Regions from separate parts of the Homo sapiens genome. Here all the other regions are linked to region 1. Evidence: promoter capture Hi-C in 16 types of primary human blood cells and fetal thymus (Javierre and others, 2016). All regions are on one chromosome and are shown on one strand. Each heading gives the region's core, a stretch centred on a gene start or on the middle of the fragment in contact. The rest is flanking DNA. Distances are from core to core; before and after follow the strand shown.

Evidence for each region. Contacts are between HindIII fragments. The CHiCAGO score rates a contact against its expected background, and 5 or more counts as called.
Region 2: a fragment that was not itself captured here is called in contact with the fragment with the promoter of MRPL42 in region 1 in 1 of 17 cell types (fetal thymus); the score reaches 7.2 in fetal thymus.
Region 3: a contact is called between a fragment that was not itself captured here and the fragment with the promoter of MRPL42 in region 1, in 1 of 17 cell types (total B cells). The highest score is 5.3, in total B cells.
Region 4: a fragment that was not itself captured here is called in contact with the fragment with the promoter of MRPL42 in region 1 in 1 of 17 cell types (naive CD4 T cells); the score reaches 5.2 in naive CD4 T cells.

Annotation. Positions count from the first base shown.
Region 1 is chr12:93,465,511-93,469,810 of GRCh38, forward strand. It overlaps MRPL42 (mitochondrial ribosomal protein L42), which reads left to right and starts at 2,004. Exons shown (of 6, transcript NM_014050.4): 1 at 2,004-2,044; 2 at 3,682-3,845. The coding sequence starts at 3,776. RefSeq lists enhancers at 1,836-1,895, 1,956-2,225. The HindIII fragment of the contact is 2,939 bases long and covers 1,785-4,300 here.
Region 2 is chr12:94,075,312-94,079,582 of GRCh38, forward strand. No RefSeq gene overlaps it. Among named protein-coding and RNA genes, the nearest start is that of PLXNC1, 71 kb to the right of the region's middle. The HindIII fragment of the contact is 3,902 bases long and covers 385-4,271 here.
Region 3 is chr12:92,942,974-92,947,935 of GRCh38, forward strand. No RefSeq gene overlaps it. Among named protein-coding and RNA genes, the nearest start is that of EEA1, 16 kb to the left of the region's middle. The HindIII fragment of the contact is 207 bases long and covers 1,552-1,758 here.
Region 4 is chr12:92,906,488-92,911,388 of GRCh38, forward strand. All of the region lies in intron 1 of EEA1 (early endosome antigen 1), which reads right to left. Among named protein-coding and RNA genes, the nearest start is that of EEA1, 20 kb to the right of the region's middle. RefSeq lists a silencer at 2,693-2,893. The HindIII fragment of the contact is 180 bases long and covers 2,655-2,834 here.

The DNA of each region.
Region 1 (4,300 bases), core at 754-3,253:
TGTTGGGGACTGGTCCCACTCTGCTCACAGCCATCAAGACTTGACCTCTGGAATTATCTTTGATCCATTCTTCTTACACTTTACGCAGGGAATGTTCAACCAGTCCAGTTGACTGCTCATTCAAATCTGTTTCTCCTCTCTGTCCCTTCCTATTGCACAGTCCAGAAAGACATCATGGGTGGCTTTGGAGGATGGACACGACTGGAAAGGACACAGATGGGCCCTCTGTGGGCTTCTATAAGAGCAAAGATTAGCCTCCTGATATTCCGTGGGAAATGAGGAGACACACTACACAGCCCGTATTTAGTTTTCTTTACTATGTGATGTGTGTTCACTTACTTTCAATACTAGTCACTTCAGGAATATGGTTCTTAACTTGTTGAGGGGTTTATCAATTCCCTGGAATACATAATAAAAGCTATAGATTATTTCTTAGAAAAATATACAAAAGCAAAATTTTGCAAATCATGGGAGAAGGGAATTTCCAGGCGACCGCTTCTGCTTTACCAGCCAATCATCTACTGTCTTGGATACTTGCAGCGTTATCTAGTCTTTTCATTCATTCAGCAAACACTTCCTGGAGACCTATAATGAGACCAAGCACAGTCTGAGATGCTGGGTTTGCATACAGTGAAGAACAAGATAGACATATGTCTCTGTCTTCAAGGAGCTTACATTATCCAGCATAAGAGACATTAAACGAGGTTGGGTGTGGTGGCTCACGCCTGTAATCCAGCCCTTTGAGAGGCCGAGGTGGGCATATCACCTGAGGTAAGGAGTTCGAGATCAGCCGGGCAAACATGGCGAAACCCCATCTCTACTAAAAATACAGAAATTAGCTGGGCGTGGTGGTGGCCACCTGTAATCCCAGCTAATTAGGAAGCTGAGGCAGGAGAATCGCTTGAAGCTGAGAGGCGGAGGTTGCAGTGAGCTGAGATCATGCCACTGCACTCCGGCCTGGGCGATAGAGCAAGACTCCGTCTCAAAAAAAAAAAAAAAAAGAAAGAGACATTCAACGAGCAAACAAATAATCAATATAAAGTCAGGTAATGGTAAATATTCTGAAGGAAAATAAAGCGGGGCATGGAATAAGGGTGGGTGAGGCTATTTTAATGGTGTGGTCCTTTCTAAGATGATATTTGAGAAAGACCTGTAAGGTCATGAGAAGAGGTCAGAGAAGCACATTGCTGGCAATGGGAACAGAGAGTGCAAAGGCCCAGAGGTCTTTCCTTCCTCCTAAGATGGAAAGCGAGGTCCAAGATTCTGCATATTTACTTCCTCCCATAATAGGTAGCCAGCACAGTTCTGAGGGCACAGTGCCAGGTTTTCAGAGTGGAGGTTCTCTTCAGGTTCTGATTTCAAACGTCCAAATCCTAGCCTCCACATTTCAGGGCTTCTCTGGAATGTCTCTTCCCCTGGGAAACTTTAACTCATCTACTAAAGAGCAATCTACGATTTCTCTGAATATTAACATAATTTTTTTAAAAAGTACTTATAGGTTTGCATGGTGGCTCATGCCTGTAATTCCAGCACTTTGGGACGCCGAGGCAGGAGGATTGCTTGAGACAAGCCTGGGCAACATACCGAGACCTCGTCTCTACAAAAATATTAAAAAATTAGCTGGGTGTGGTGGTGTGCGCCTGTAGTACCAGCTACTCAGGAGGCTGAGGTGGGAGGCTCTCTTGGGCCCAGGAGGTAGAGGCTGCAGTGAGCCGTGAGGGAGCCATTGCACTCCAGTCTGGGTGACAGAATGAGACTGCCTCACAAAAAAAAAAAAAAAAAAAAGCTTGTTACTTTCTAAGGGTATGTGTTTGGGGCAGTGATTTTGTTTTTCTGGGCACCTTAGTAACACTGCGGCCACGCTTCCCCAACTAAAGGTAAAAGTCCATAGCAACAATCCTCCCTTTCTCTCTGCACCCGGGCCGCTTTCCCGCGGAGACTACATTTCCCAGAATGCCCCGCGGGCTGGGACGGCGCGCGCAGCGCTGTTTCGTGGGACCAGGATTGAAACAAGATGGCGGGTTCGTGGTGAGAAGCCGTCAAGGTAACCGCTTCCCTCTACTCCTCCTGTCGAGGACTTCCTCGAAACTGGGCAGTCCCACAGTGTTGGTCGGCAGTTGTAGAGGTCTCCCGCCTGTCGTTCCCGGCAGGGCGAGGTTGCCTGCATCCCCAGCCTTTGTCCTTCCTGCAGAAGAGCCGGCATGTGGCTGCGCGTTTCTTATAGCGCCCCCTTTGTTCCCTGGCGGACGCCCGTGGGGAGGTGATGCAGCTTGTGGCTCTAGGGACTCCTTTAGGTCGAAGAGTTCTGGTGCTCTTGGTAGCCTGTTCCTCAAACCTCTGACCCTCAGAGGCTCTGTAGCTTTTGTTTTGGGGTTGAATTCCGGGCTGAGGGACTTGATCTCTGAAATGATCTTCCTGGGGTGAATAATCTGACTCCCAGCAGGGCGTGCTTTTCTCTGGGCTTCGGACAGAGGGGACCTAATTTCCCCCAAGATGTTTTATTCGTGGTCAGAAGTCATGGGTTTACGTCCCACGCATGTATTAAGCAGCGATATACTGAGCAAGTAATCGATTGACCTCTCTGAGCCTTTGTTCTTAATCTGAAATGGAGATGCTGCTTCACACACTTGTGAAAGTCAGAGCACATATTGTATATGAAAGTGGGTTGTAAACTAAAAAGCACACCTATGAGCTCAGGGTTAACGGTGTTAATGTACTGGCAGTGCAAGGTATCAGTGTGAGTGGTTTAGACTAGCAAATAAGAGGGCCTGTGTCCTAATTCTCTTTTATCACTATTGGGGGGAAGGGCACGGATACTCATTGAAGACTATTAAAAACAAGATTTAACAATGGTTATTTGTCATTTATTCACAACAGGCCATGAAGATTGTGGTTTTCCCCATTTTGTCATTGGAGAAACTGAGGATCGTTTAGTTAATGACTTGTTTAAAGTTTCCCAATTTGGCAGTGACTGACTCTAAAGTCCTTGGAAGCAAGACGTTTAAATTTTGTACTTTAGTTTCTTCATGAATCAGAATAAAGATACCTCACATGATTAATACGAGAGCAAAATGAAATGGTGGTGAAAGTACGTTGGAAAGTTAAAGACTTTGTACACATATAAGATGGTGAAATTTTATCTGGGACTTGAGGGCATTTATGAGTTCCTCCAATTGAGTAATAGGCTAAGGATAGGCCTTGTTTGATATTTCTTTATTATTATTATTATTATTAATGGCTCAGGGCAGACAACTATTTCATTTAATCAGAAACAGGATAGTACTGTAAATGATGTAGTATCTTGTGTATGGAACCTTGGAGGGTGTACACAGCCACACTAGCATTAAAAGAATGAATACTCTGTGTACCATTTGTGAGTGACTGTTTCAAGAGTAATTACACATTTACTGAGTATTCATTAAGTGGAAGGAGCTGCACTGGGTCCTGCAGAGAAGTTTGTATCTAAGATAAATAGTAATGGACATAGTTCCAGTGGTTCTGATCTTATATTCTGTCCATGTCGCTCTTCGTCCTGTTGTTCAATCATGTGGAATTGCCAAGTTGTTTAAAAGCATTGCTTCAGTTGACTTCTAGGCAGTGATTCTTACCTTGTTCTTGTGGTGTTTAATATAACTTAAATTTACCATAGGTAGCACTGATTTTTCTTTATCTCTTCAGCAGGAGTAGAAATTGGTATGCTTAGAAGCAGATTCTAAAAGCAGTTTCTCTTCAGAACATCTTTTTTCATACCACTTGATAAGCATCTTGAAACACCATGGCTGTAGCTGCAGTAAAATGGGTGATGTCAAAGAGAACTATCTTGAAACATTTATTTCCAGTCCAAAGTAAGTGAAATTTTTTTTAATGTTTAAAAACTTTTAAACTTTTAAGAATTAAGAAAATTTAAAGCATTTAGTTATTGTATATGCCTGTAATTTGCAGGAGTGTTTGCAGCAATGGAAAGTGGGAGAAAACCTAAATGTCAGTCAGAAGGGGAATGGATAGGTCAGATGTGGTGTCTCATGCCTGTAATCCCAGCACTTTGGGAGGCTGAGGTGGGAGGATTGCTTGAGGCCAGGGGTTTGAGACCAGCCTGGGCAACATAGCAAGACCCCCACCTCTAAAAAAAAATGTGGGTTGGGGAGGGGAATGGATAAATTATGGTACATCTGAACTGTGACTGTCATGTAGCTGTTACTGACATGGAAAGATCTCCAAATAGAAACAAAAAAAGCATGTCAGAACCACATCTATATATATCTATCATATGATCTTATTTGTATGTTTAAAAGATGATCCA
Region 2 (4,271 bases), core at 1,086-3,585, 610 kb after region 1:
ATGTGGAGAAAAACACCAAGAAGGAAGTGAAAGTCAGACATAACCAAGAAGGAGGCAAATTTAATCTTCTCTGAGCTGGAAAATTAAAGCCAAGAGAATTCTATTATTAGGAACCTCTGTTCCGAAGGCTGGGTGGGGGCGGGATGCAAAAAAGGCTGCACTGCCCTCTATTGGGACCTAACAGCACTCAGCTAAGGGCTCTTCATTCATGATCTCAGTTAGTCATTGCACAACTTTTGGGAGCTATTAGTAATGGAAAAAAGACCAGAGAAATCAAGTAACTTGCTCTAGCTCATGCAACTAGGAAATGGCACAAGCAAGGATACTAAACCAGGGACAAATGGCTTTCCCAGTTTATTTTCTTGCCATTCATCTTTATAGCCAAGCTTTTCCTCCTTGGACCCAGAACATGGCATGTTGTAAGCGTTTGCCAGCAGTTCTCTCTGGCATGATGGGTCTCAAAGCTAGCTGCCTATTAGAACTACCTGGAGACATGCTCTAACCTGCCAAGTGTTCAAGCCCCACCTCCAGTGATTCTGATTTTAATTGATCTTATGTAGATCCTAGCTTAAGTAGGTTTTAAAAGTTCTCCAGGTGATTCTAACATATAGCCAGTGCTAAGAATTCCTGTTCTAGCTGCAGAAGATATAGAGGCAAAACACATGGCCCCTTCCAAACCTGGGACTTGTATTTAATAGAATTTAATACGTTTAGAGGGCTTCACTAAAGAAAAATCACTTTTGAAGGCTGTAGGCTTTCTAGTGGAATGTTAGTTCTGCTTTATGGTATGGTAGGCTGAATAATAGTCCCCCAAAGAGCTTCACGTCTCAATCCTTTGGAACCTATAAATAGATTACTTTACACAGAAAAAGAGACTTTGCAGATGTAATTACATTAAAGATCTTGAGTTGAGGAGATTATCCTAGATTATCTGGATGGCCCAGATATAATCACAAGGGTCCTTCGAAGAGAGGCAGGGGAGTCAGAGTTAGAGAAGATGTGATGATGGAAGTGGAGGTTGGAATGGTGTGAGGAAGGAATACAAAAAATGCAGTGGCCTCTAGAAGCTGAAAAAGGGAGAGGAAACATCCTCCTTTAGATCCTTCAGAAAGAACAGTCCTGCACAGGCTTGACTTTAGCCCATTGAGACTGATTTTGAACTTCTGACCTCCAGAATCATAAGAATAAATTTGCATTGTTATGAGCCACTAAATTTGTGTTATTTGTTACAGCAGCAAGGGGAACTAATACAGATGTGGTGCAGCTCGCTTCAGCCATCTGAGGCTTGGGTTCCTCACCTCTAAAATGGATACTCATACCTACTTCAATAGGACTAAATTCAATAATTATAAGGAATTCTTGTGGCTGGCACACAGTAAGTGTTCAATAAACGGCACCTACTATTACACTATTACACCTACTACTACTACAGCTACTATTACACTCATCCATAGAGGAACCTGGGATTCTCATCTCCTGAGAATCCCAGGTTCCTCATGCAGCTCTGAGTCAAAACAGGTGGGGCACAAAGTGGAAAAAATATAATAAGATGTGAGAAGAAAGAGGCTTTTAGTTGTGCCCAAATACATTTCTACAGGACAAGGGATCAAGGTGAATGGAAAATAAATTAGCAAGAGAGCAGTGGCAGCAGAATTTCTCAGCCAGCTGGCCTCTGGGGGATGTTTGCACACGCTGGTTCTGAACATGCTATCAGATTCCTGGCACTATTGGGTCCACTTCCCAGGAACTCAGCCCCTTATTGTAAGAATTCACAAAGAGAAAGAGAAAAGGAATTAGAATCATCATAATACCTAAAGGACCCAGAAATATACAAGTTCCCCTGTCCAAATACAGCTAGCCAGTCAATTTCTGAGCAGTTGGACAATTTCAGGTTCTTAAGCTCTCACAAGAATAAAACATTGTTTTCTATCTATGTAGTGTTGGTTGGATTGATAGTATTAATGGACATTCTACCATGTATGAGACTTATGACCTTAGGCAAATTACTCTGTTCTTCAGCTTCTTCACCTGTAAAACAGGGACAAGGGTAACACCTAGTTGTAGGGTTGTCATGAAGATTAAATGATTTATACATGCAAAGGGCATAGTAAAGTGCCTGGCACACAGTCAAGTGCTCGGTAAGTTAGCTATTAACATTCCCAGCAGGGTTATTTTTATTTTGGAAAAAGACATGAGGCTAGGTGAAGGAAGCCACCGACTTAGAATACTTTTCATGAAGAACAGTATTTTTGTTGTTGTTGTTGAGACAGGTTCTCACTCTGTCACCCAGGCAGGATGGGGTGCAGTCACGCAATCATAGCCCACTGCAGCCTCAAACTCCTGGGCTCAAGCAATCCTCCCACTTCAGCCTCCTGAGTAGCTGGGACTAAGACACAATCCACCACACCCAGGTAATTTTTTTATTCTTTGTACAGACAGGGTCTCACCATATTACCCAGGCTGGTCTTGAATTCATGGCCTCAACTGATCCTCCTGCCTTGGCCTCCCAAAGTTCTGAGATTACAGGTGTGATCCACCGTGCCTGGCAGAAAGACAGTAATTTTTAATGTCCTTTTATTGTTTTATGTAGTTTTGTTTTTAAAGGAGCTTCAAGAGAAAGAAGTCCAAAATAGGAGCCAGATACAGGCACGTATTCACTCAGCCAATATTTATTGACTGTCAATTATATACCAGGAACTTTTCTAGGAACTGGGGCCTAAAGATAAACAAAATCTGTTCCCTACACATAAGGAGTGTTCAGCATAATGGTGGAAAGAGAGATGGTAGATTCCTAGCACAAGACAGCAAGACACATGCTGCAATAAGAGTAGGTAGGGCATGGTGAAGAGATACATAGGAGAAAATCTGATCTGGGATAGGGGACATCAGGGAGGACTTCCTGGAGGAAGCAACATCTAAATTGGCTGAGTAGGTTTGCAGATGGATGATAAGGATGTGGAGAGTTTTAGAGGAAACCAGCTCTTCCGAAGTTTTGAGGGCAAGAGCAAGCAGTGTTTTCAGGAAACTGCAGTCAAGATGAACCCAAGGGGTGGGGCCAGGCCTGAAACGGGAGGTGAGAGATTCAGCAGGAGTTCTAAATGCCATTCAGATCACAGATCACAAAGATGGAGAACCATGATAACGAGTTTGTATTTTAGCTTGAGGACAATGAGGAGCTGTTGAAAGGCTTTAAGCAGGGCAATTTCACAATAAGATTTGAGCTTTAGAAAGATCACTCTCAGGAGAGTAGTTGAAAGACAAGATCAAAGTCAGAAAGACAAGCTGGAAAACTATTGCAATAATTCTGGTGAAAGATAAAAGAAGACAGAGTCAAGGTACTGGCAGTGGGGAATGATTAGGCATGGACAGATGTTAGAATGGCAGACCTGCAGACTCTGTGATCAGGTGAGAAAGGGAGGAAAAAAATCTCATTTCCAGGTTTCTAACTTGGATGAAAGGTGGTACCACTCACTAATTCAGGAAATCCAGGAAGCAGAAGTTTGAGAGGCAGGTAATGAGCTCAGCTTTTGACACCTTGATGTGGACACATTGAAGGCCTGTGGGGACCTTCAAGTGGACATGCGCAGTTAGCAGCTAGATATGAGCCTTGAGTTCAAGATGAAGACTTGAGATTTGAGTCATTGGCCCATAGTTCGTCTATTTGAAACCATGGGAATGGGTGAGACCACCCGGGGACAGTGAGGAGTTCAAGGTGGAGGCATGATGTCCTCTGGCAAGAATGCTGTCTAAGGAGACACAGAGATAAGACAGTAATTGGAGGGGAGCAGGAGGTAAAGGGAGATAGTGTTTTGCTGTTTTTGTGTTTTAACAAACACTTGAGATTGTTGAAATGTTGCTGATGAAGAGGAATGGGGTGGGTGGGGAAAGAAAGGATTAAAGTAGAGTCTATCTTCTTTGTTCACAGATTTTGTATTTGCAAATTTGCCTACTCACTAAAATGCATTTGTGACCCTAAAATCAATAATCACGGTGCTTTCATGGTCATTCCTGGATGGGCACCTGTTCAGAGTGTCAAAAAACTGGATCCTCCTGATACACTTGTCCCCAGCTGAGGTTAAACAAGGCAATGCTCTGCCTTCCTGTTTCAACTCTCATACTATAAATGTGTCCTTTTCGCAGAATATTTAGCGTCACATTTTTCACGTTTGTGCATTTCGTTGGTGATTTCGCTGTTTAAAATTGCCTGAAGCAAAATGCCGAAGTGCTGTCTAGTGTTCCTAAGCCCAAAAAGCTGTGCCTTATGGAGAAAA
Region 3 (4,962 bases), core at 405-2,904, 520 kb before region 1:
CCTGACTGACTCCAGCTTGCTTACACTCTCCAAGCTGCCCTTCTTCATTCCTGGGTGCAGGCCAAACTAACTTTGGGAGGAATTTAATTTATAGTCTAACTTTGAAACAAAGATGATAACAGCAGTTTCCTGAAACAAACCTCCTTCTTGCCAGGGGGACCAGACTGCCTTTGTAAGACTAACATATTAACCACAAGATTAGAAATGATGGCTTAGGAGCCATGCAGCCAGAAGCCACAGGATTTCAACCCTCCCCAGTTGCTCCTAGGGATAATATTACTATTGTAAAACCTGAGATTGGTGCTCAAGATATTTTTTAGACCCTGCATTATGGTGCATCAGCTGGCACCTCCTGATCAATCAGCACTCTCCACTCCCTGGCCCTCTACCCACCAAACTATCCTTAAAAAAATGCAGTCTCTAAATTTTGGGGGGGACTGATTTCAGTAATAAAACTCTAGTCTTCCATTCAGCTCGCTCTGTGTGAATTAAACTCTTTCTGTATTCCAATTCCCCTGTCTTAATAAATCATCTCTGTTTGGACAGTGGGCAAGGAGAACCCACTGGGCAGTTACAGTATTATTAGGTTAATAAATATATTTGTCCAGGAGTTCGAGTCCAGCCTGGACAACATGATGAAACTCTGCCTGTACAACAAATGCCAAAAAAATTAGCTCAGCATATTGGCCCATGCCTATAGTCCTGGCTACTCGGAAGGCTGAGGTGGGAGGATTGCTTGAGCCCAGGAGGCTGAGGTTGCAGTGAGCCGTGATGGAGCAATTGCATTCCAGCCTGGACGACAGAGTGAGTCTCTGTCTCTAGAAACAAAAACAATATATATTTGTCCCTCCATATTGACAATCTTGCTAAATTTTAAATACTGTGAGGTAGAGTAGATTAAAGGGATCTATTGTACCTTTTGCTCTGAGTTAAAAAGTTGAAAACACTTGGAAAGAGCAAGCCATTTTTAAAAGCTGAAGGCATTCGGAAACACCAAGTCATTTTTCAAGCTTGCATAGTAGCTTCTGACCTCTAGTGGGAACTTGGCTTGAATAACTATGCCTACAGTGTAGAGGGAGCCATATCTACTCTTGTTTTGTTTCATTCTGTTGAATTTTTATTTTCGTGTCTTGTTTCTGTGGTTTGAAGAATAACTACTAAAATTTGGTTTAAGTGTAAATCCTCTAAAGAAATTCTTGCCAGAGCTTTTCTTTATATTTTAACTTGCTTACTCAAGCAACTTAAGCAACAGTTAACTTAGGAAGTTTTTTGTTGAGGTTTTTTTTTTTTTTTTTTTTTTTTTTTTTCCCCATGCAAAAGAGGTATCGTTTGTGTTGAAACCTGGGTTTCACTGGACAACACAATTTACCTGTGGTTGACCTGAGTTTCACTGGACAACACAGTTTACCTGTGGTTGGTTGTAAAATGTTCTGTAATTCAATAAAATAAAGATAAAATACAAGACTCTTTTGGTGGATAAAAATTAATCAATATTTTGACTTTAAAGAAGCTTTGTGTTTCTTTTTAAAATCAATGTTTTGACTTTAAAGAAGCTTTGGTAAGAATGTTTCAACACTGAGTAACATTCTGTTGAACTTTGCAAACATTGTATATGATTTTAAAAGTAATTTATGATAATAGGAAGTTGCATTGGTTATTTACTTGCTCTGTATTACTTTATATATTGTAACTTTTCATTGCAAAGATAAAAATAACTAAACAGAAAGTTTGTAACTAAGCATTTGGTAGCACCGTCTAAGCTTCTTACTTATTTCATTTATTCCTCACAACAATCCTGTGAGGTAAAAAGTAATGAGGTGTTTTGTTGTTGTGATTGTTTGTTTGAGACGGAGTTTCGCTCTTGTTGCCCAGGCTGGAGTGCAATGGCGTGATCTTGGCTCACCACAACCTCTGCCTCCCAGGTTCAAGCGATTCTCTTGCCTCAGCTTCCTGAGTAGCTGGGATTACAGGTATGCGCCACCACACCTGGCTAATTTTGTATTTTTATTAGAGACAGGGTTTCTCCATGTTGGTCAGGCTGGTCTCGAACTCCCGACCTCAGGTGATCTGCCTGCCTCAGCCTCCCAAAGTGATGGGATTACAGGCTTAAGCCACTGTGCCTGGCTAGTCATGAGGTTTAAAAAGATTAAATAACTTGCCCAAATTAAGAAGTGATTGAGCAAAGATTTAAAACCAGACAACCTGACTCGAGAGCCTGCAGTGTCAATGATTTCTAATACTTAAATACCTAGTATGCTGGTTACACTAGTAAAGAGGCAATATTATTCTAGGAGTTTAAATGTTTTATTTACTTTTTTATCTATATATTTTTTAAAAAACATTCTCATAAGCTTTCATCACATATAACTCTATGGTCTTCATAATTTTAATTTCTAATGCCTAACAGTCTATCAACATTAGAATGTAGAAAATCAATCCACAAGGAAGTTTGTTTTTTTATCTCTATTGTTTCATTTTTAGTATATATATTTTAGGTTTTTGTTCGCTCATTAAAAAATGTATAACAAATCAGAAGCATATAAAGTGCATTCCATGTGTCATTGTATAATTTTTAAAAAGCTAAAACCATGGCTCTCATCTAGTACGTATATAAAGAGTTGTCTGAGCATGCTGGCTCACATCTGTAATCCCAACACTTTGGGAGGCCGAGACAGGAGGATTGCTTGAGCCCAGGAGTTTGAGACCAGCCTGGGCAACATAGTGAGACCTTGTCTCTACTAAAAATAAAAAGAACTTAGCCACCTGTGGTGGCATGTGCCTGTGGTCCCAGCTACTCAGGAGGCTGAAGCAGAAGGATTGCTTGAGCCCAGGAGGGCAAAGTTGCAGTGAGCCATGATTGCACCACTACATTCCAGCAGCCTGGCTGACAGAGCAAGACCCTGTCTCAAAAAAAAAAAAAATCCAAAAACAAAATCAAAGAGCTCATAGATAAGAGAGTCAACAACAGGAGAAAGCCAATTCAAAGGGGCATAGGACAGGTAGTCACTGAAAGAAAAAACAAATGCTAGACTATACTAGAACAAACAAAAATGCTAGACTACGATTACTAAATTACATAAAAACTGGTTAGTGCCGCATAGGGTAATAAAACTAACTGTTGGGTTGTAGTCTGTTTACCAGCCTCACAACATCTGCATCTCTATGGGACAAAGGTTATTTGCACTTATATTACACAATGATTATTTGCATCACTATCTGGTTTTCTACAATTTACTTTCTGCTCTTACATCTTTACCAATTATCACTATCTATTATATTGCATATCTTATATATTTACTTTGTTTGCTGTCTTCTCCATTAGAACATTTTCCCACTTCTGTACACTGCTATATCCCCAATGCCTAGAACACTGCCTAGCACATAGAATGTACTTAAAAGTATGTGTGGAATAAATAAATAAGAAAAAATTTTTCCATGCTGGCTAACACGGTGAAATCCCGTCTCTATTAAAAATACAAAAAATTAGCTGGGCATGATGGTGGGTGCCTGTAGTCCCAGCTACTCGGGAGGCTGAGGCAGGAGAATGGTGTGAACCCGGGAGGTGGAGGTTGCAGTGAGCTGAGACCGCGCCACTGCACTCCAGCCTGGGTGACAGAGCAAGACTGCATCAAAAAAAAAAAAAAAAAAGAAAGAAAGAAAAAAATTTTTTAAATGCAGATCAATTTGCCTTTAAAACCACAAGCTATTTTTTTTTTAACTTTTTACCTTTTTCTCTTTTTTTTTTTGAGACTGGGTCCCACTCTGTTGCCCAGGCTGGAGTGCAGTGGCATGATCTTGGCTCACTGCTGCCTTGACCTCCTGGGCTCAAGCGATCCTCCTGCCTCAGCCCCCTGCGTAGCTGGAACTACAGGTGCATGCCACCATGCCCTGCTAATTTTTGTATTTTTGGTAGAGGCAGGGTTTTGACATGTTGCCCAGGCTGGTCTTGACGTTCTGGGCTCAACTGATTCACCTGTGTCAGCCTCCCAAAGTGCTGGGATTATAGGTGTGAGCCTCTGCACCTGGCCCCACAGTTATTTTAAAAGGAAAAATGGGGGAAATGTAAAGTAAACAAACCCCAAGTACATTTAAATGTAAGTTAAATCAGCTGTGTAAAGGACACCCAAGCCCTCATATTGGTGATTGAACAGAGAAAAGCTTGTTTCTACCTATTTGTGGAGAGATGAATAGAAACGACGTGTGATGAGGAAATAAAACATGGAGAAACTGGAGAAAATCTACTAACCCCTCGTTCTTTTTTTTTTTTCTTTTAAGATGGAGTCTAGCTTTGTCGCCAGGCTGGAGTGCAGTGGCGTGATCTCAGCTCACTGCAACCTCCGCCTCTCGGGTTCAAGCGATCCTGCCTCAGCCTCCCAAGTAGCTAGGATTTCAGGTTCATGCCTCCGTGCCTGGCTAATTTTAGTATTTTTAGGAGAGAGATTTCACCATATTGGCCAGGATGATCTCAATCTCCTGACCTCAAGTGATCCACCCACCTCAGCCTCCCAAAGTGCTAGGACTACAGGCGTGAGCCACCGCGCCCAGCCTTACTAACCCCTCATTCTAAAGGTAAATGGAAGGATACAACTTGAGAATGTAGGAGAGAAAAAAAATTTCTTTTCCTCTATTCTTTTTCATTGTGTGGGTCCCTGCAAGTTAGCCTGACAAAAGATAGATTAACAGAAGAAAAGGCATACAAATTTTATTTAATGTTAATTTTTAGCAAACAGAGGTGCTTTTTGTTTTTTGAAGAGATGGGATCTCACTGTGTTGCCCAGGCTGGTCTTGAAACCCTGGGCTCAAGCAATCCTCCCACCTCAGCCTCCCAAAGTTCTGGGATGACAGGCATGAGCCACCATGCCCAGCCCACAGGGGCTTTTCTAAAAAATGAAGTGAAGACTCAGTAAAGCAGATAGGCCTAAGAGCTTAAGTACCACTTTAAACAAAGAATGATAAATTGTG
Region 4 (4,901 bases), core at 1,495-3,994, 560 kb before region 1:
TATAAGCTATCTATAAGGATTTCTTATAAAATGTAACTTTAGGGGCCGGGTGCAGTGGCTCACGCCTGTAATTCCAGCACTCTGGGAGGCCGAGGCGGGCGGATCACGAGGTCAGGAGATCGAGACCATCCTGGCTAACACGGTGAAACCCCGTCTCTACTAAAAACACAAAAAAGGTTAGCCGGGCATAGTGGCGGGCGCCTGTAGTCCCAGCTACTGGGGAGGCTGAGGCAGGAGAATGGCATGAACCCAGGAGGTGGAGCTTGCAGTGAGCCAAGATTGCGCCACTGCACTCCAGCCTGGGTGACAGAGCTAGACTCTGTCTCAAAATAAAAAAAAAATTAAATAAAATGTAACTTTCAACACTGATTTTGTTACTCTATTTCATCTGCATCCCACCATAAAAACAAATTAGAAAGATTTTCACAAAAAGTTTGAAAAGCCATTTACTATATGCAGACCTTAAGAACAATGCTTTAAATACATTATGCAAGCCTTATACTAAATGGATAGACAAAGGGCTCTCACTAACCCTTTTCTACTATTAAGAGCTAAAAACGTAACATATAGATAAAGCGAGAAGTTATCTTTGCAAATAACAAATACTATTTCATGAAAAAAAATTCATGTAAAGTAATTGAGGGGTTCCCAGGGAGTTTTCATACTTGACCTCTTAGCTTATCACATACTCTTTAGGTAAATTCATTTACTCCCTTAATTTTCATTAACACCATTGCTGAAAATAATAAAACACTAACTTTAATCCAGACCTTTGCTGAGTTTCCAATTCATATTTTCCTGTCCTGCCAAATATATCTAATTGAATGCCTTGAGAGCACCACAAAGTCAGCTTATTCAAAACCAAATTCATTTATCTTTGCTCAAAGCTTTCACCCATCTACATTCTCCATCTCAGATTATAGAACCATCACACACTCATTTTGCCTAAATCCAAGGCATCACTCTTACTTGTCTCTATTCCTTAACCTTCACATCCAATCACCAAGTTAATTCAACTGCCCACTTAAATTTTGAATCTATCCCCCTTTCTCCATCTCCTTGGCCACTACCTTAATTCATGTTGCAATCATCTCTCACCTGGACGATAAAAGAGACCTAATATAGCACTCTATACCTCTACATCCACATTTGTAGTTGTTTACTAAGAAATCAAGCAATGGATTTCTCAAAGCATTGTAACCAAACCAAACTCTTCATTCATCTCAACACTTTACCATCCTAGGAAAAAGTTTACTTTCCTCACTATGTTCTCCAGCTTAGTCAATAATATCCTCATTTATCAAGAACTTCAGTTAAAACCTAAATGAACTATTAACCAGGCATGGTGATGGGCACCTGTTATCCCAGCTACTTGGGAGGCTGAGGCAGGAGAATCACTTGAACCCAGGAGGCGGAAGTTGCAGTGCACTGAGATCACACCACTGCGCTCCAGCCTGGGTGACAGAGTGAGACTGTCTCCAAACAAACAAACAAACAAAAATTAAAACCTAAATGAACTAAAACAGATATTTGCACACCAATGTTCATAGCAGCATTATTCACAATAGCTAAAACATGTAAATAATCCAATGTCTGTCAACGGATGAATGGATAAACAAAAGGTAGTATATACATCCACAATGAAATATTATTCAGCCTTTAAAAGGAAGAAAATTCTGATAACATGCTGCAACATGAAGCTAGAAATAATTATGCTAAGTGAAATAAACCAGACACAAAAGGATCACTATCGTATAATTCCACTTATATGAGGTACCTAGAACAGTTAAATTCATAGTGACAGGAAGTGGAATTGTGGTTACAGTGGGTTCAGGGGAGGGGAGGAATGAAGAGTTATTGTTTTATGAGTATGGAGTTTAGTTGTAATGATTGTACAACAACGTGAATACATTTCATGCCACTGGATTATACACTTAAAAATGGTAAAAATTGTATCTTTTAAATTACGTATATTTTGTCATAATTTAAAAAAAATTTTTTTAAAACCTAAATAAGTATTATATTGCAGGCATTACCATACAGACAAAATAATTATTTTAAGTATTTAAGAATGCAGAGTTTCTACTACATATCCTTTTGGGATATAGCACAAAGCCAAAAAAAATTGCTAAAAAAAGAAACAGTAAAATTAATTCAATAATCTTAGCCATAATATTCATATTGTTAATTTTAAAGCTATTTATGTATATTTTAGCAAAAAACATTTGCTAATGTTAAGAACCAAGATATTCAGTATAAGAAAAAATGATATAAATACAGAATCAAATAAGTAAAAAACCATTTTATATCTTAAATTTGAATTATCATTTGGGTTTTTGTTTCATTTTTTTCCTGAGACAGAGTCTGGCTCTCTCACCCAAGCTGGAGTGCAGTGGTACAATCTCAGTTCACTGCAACCTCCGCCTCCCAAGTTCTAGCAATTCTCCTGCCTCAGCCTCCTGAGTAGCTAGGATTACAGGCGTGCACCACCACACCCAGCTAATTAGTAAAGATGGGGTTTCGCCGTGTTAGCCAGGATGGTCTTGAACTCCTGACTTGTGATCTGCCTGCCTCGGCCTCCCAAAGTGCTGGGATTACAGGCATGAGCCACCGCGCCCAGCCCTGTTTCTTAACAATAATTCTTATCATTCAAAAGCTTAAAAGCAAAGACAACCCAAAAGCAAAGCGCACCCTACGTGCTTATACTATGGTCTCTAACCATCACTCCCCACTCAAAGGAACCAGAATTTTCTAGAGAAATGGCTGATTCCAGACATGGGAGAGGGAATTTACAAGATAAATCTGAAACATATTATTGTGCCAAAAAGCAAGGAAGCTTTTTGAACACAAATAAGGTCCTGTCAAAATGACAAACGTCACCTTGAAGGTACTCCCAGTAGCTAAAGCTGAGATCATTTTCACATCAGCAAAACACATTGACTGTAATTGACTGAAACATGCTAAACATATGTAAATCCGTGAGTTCATAATATAAAAATCCATGAGTTAGTCAACTAATCTTTGACAATGGAACAAAGGCAATAAAATGAGAAAAGATAGCTGTTATCGCTTGAATGTCCCCACCAAAACTCATGTTGAAATTTAATTGCAAATGTAATGGTATTGAGAAGTGAGGCCTTTAAAAGGTGACTAGGTCATGGGAGTTCCACCCTCATGAATGGATTGCCATTATTGTGAACATGGATCAGTTATCATGGGAATGGCTTTGTTATAAAGACAAGCTTGTGGCCGAGCATGGTGGCTGACACCTGTAATCCCAGCACTTTGGGAGGCCGAGGTAGGAGGATCACTTGAGCTCAGGAGCCCAAGACCAGCCTGGGCAACATGGTGAGACCCCGCCTTAATAAATTTAGGTTGGGCACAGTGGCTCACGCCTGTAATCCCAGCACTTTGGGAGACCGAGAAGGGTAGATCACCGGAGGTCAGGAGTTTGAGACCAGCCTGGTCAATGTGGAGAAACCTTGTCTCTGCTAAAAATACAAAAATTAGCCAGGTGTGGTAGCAGCCACCTGTAATCCCAGCTACTTGAGAGGCTGAGGCAGAAGAATCACTTGAACCCAAAAGGTGGAGGTTGCAGTGAGCCAAGATCACGCCACTGCACTCCAGCCTCGGCAACAGAGCAAGATTCCATCTCAAAAATAAATAAATTAATTAAATTTTAATTTTAAAAAATTAACTCAAGGTCAGGCGCGGTGGCTCACACCTATAATCCCAGCACTTTGGGAGGCCGAGATGGGCAGATCACGAGGTCAGGAGTTCAAGACCAGCCTGACCGACATGGTGAAACCCATCTCTACTAAAAATACAAAAATTAGCCGGGCATGGTGGTGCGCACCTGTAATCCCAGCTACCCAGGAAGCTGAGGCAGGAGAATCGCTTGAACTCGGGAGGCGGAGGTTGCAGTGAGCCAAGATCATGCCACTGCACTACAGCCTGGGCGACAGAGCAAGACTCCATCTCAAAAAAAAATAAATAAATAAACTCAAAATGGATCACAAACCTAAATGTAAAACACAAAACTATAAACCCTAGAAGATAACATAGGAGAAATTACTGTGGTTTGTCCATTATTTTTTTAGGTAGAACACCAAAGGCGCAATCCATGAAAGAAAGAATTAATAAGCTGGACTTCATTAAAATTTAAAATGTCAGCTCTTCAAAAGACATTGTCAAGAGTAAAAAGACAAGTCACAGACTGGAGAAAAATATTTACAAAAGACAAACCTGATAATGGACTATTATCCAAAATATACAAACAACTCTTTAAATTCAACAGTAAAAAAATAAACAATCTAATTTAAAAATAAGGCAAAGACCTTAATAGACAGGCATCTTACAAAAGAAGATATACAGATGGCAAATATGCATATGAAAAGTTGCTCCACAGCATACACCATCAGGGTAATGCAAATTAAAACAATGGGATACCACAACACAGCTAGTAGAATGGCCAAAATCCAGAACACTACCACCATCAAATGCTGACAAGGATGTGGAGAAATAGGAACAGGAATTCATTGCTGGTGGAAATACAAAATGTTACAGCTACTTTGGAAGACAGTTTGGTAGTTCCTTACAAAACTAAACATACTCTTACTATACAATTCAGTAATCACACTCCTTGGTATTTACCCAAATGAGCTAAAAACTTCTGTCCACACCAAAACGTGGACATAGAAGTTTAAAGTAGCTTTATTCATAATAGCTAAAGCTTGTAATTGACCAAGATGTCCCCCAGCGGGTGAATCAATAACTTACTAGTACACCCAGACAATATTCTCCAGCGTTAAAAAGAAATGAGCTATTAAGCCATGAAGACAATGAAGAAACTTAAACATATATTACTAAGTGAAATACAAAGTGAAAGGAGCCAATCTGAA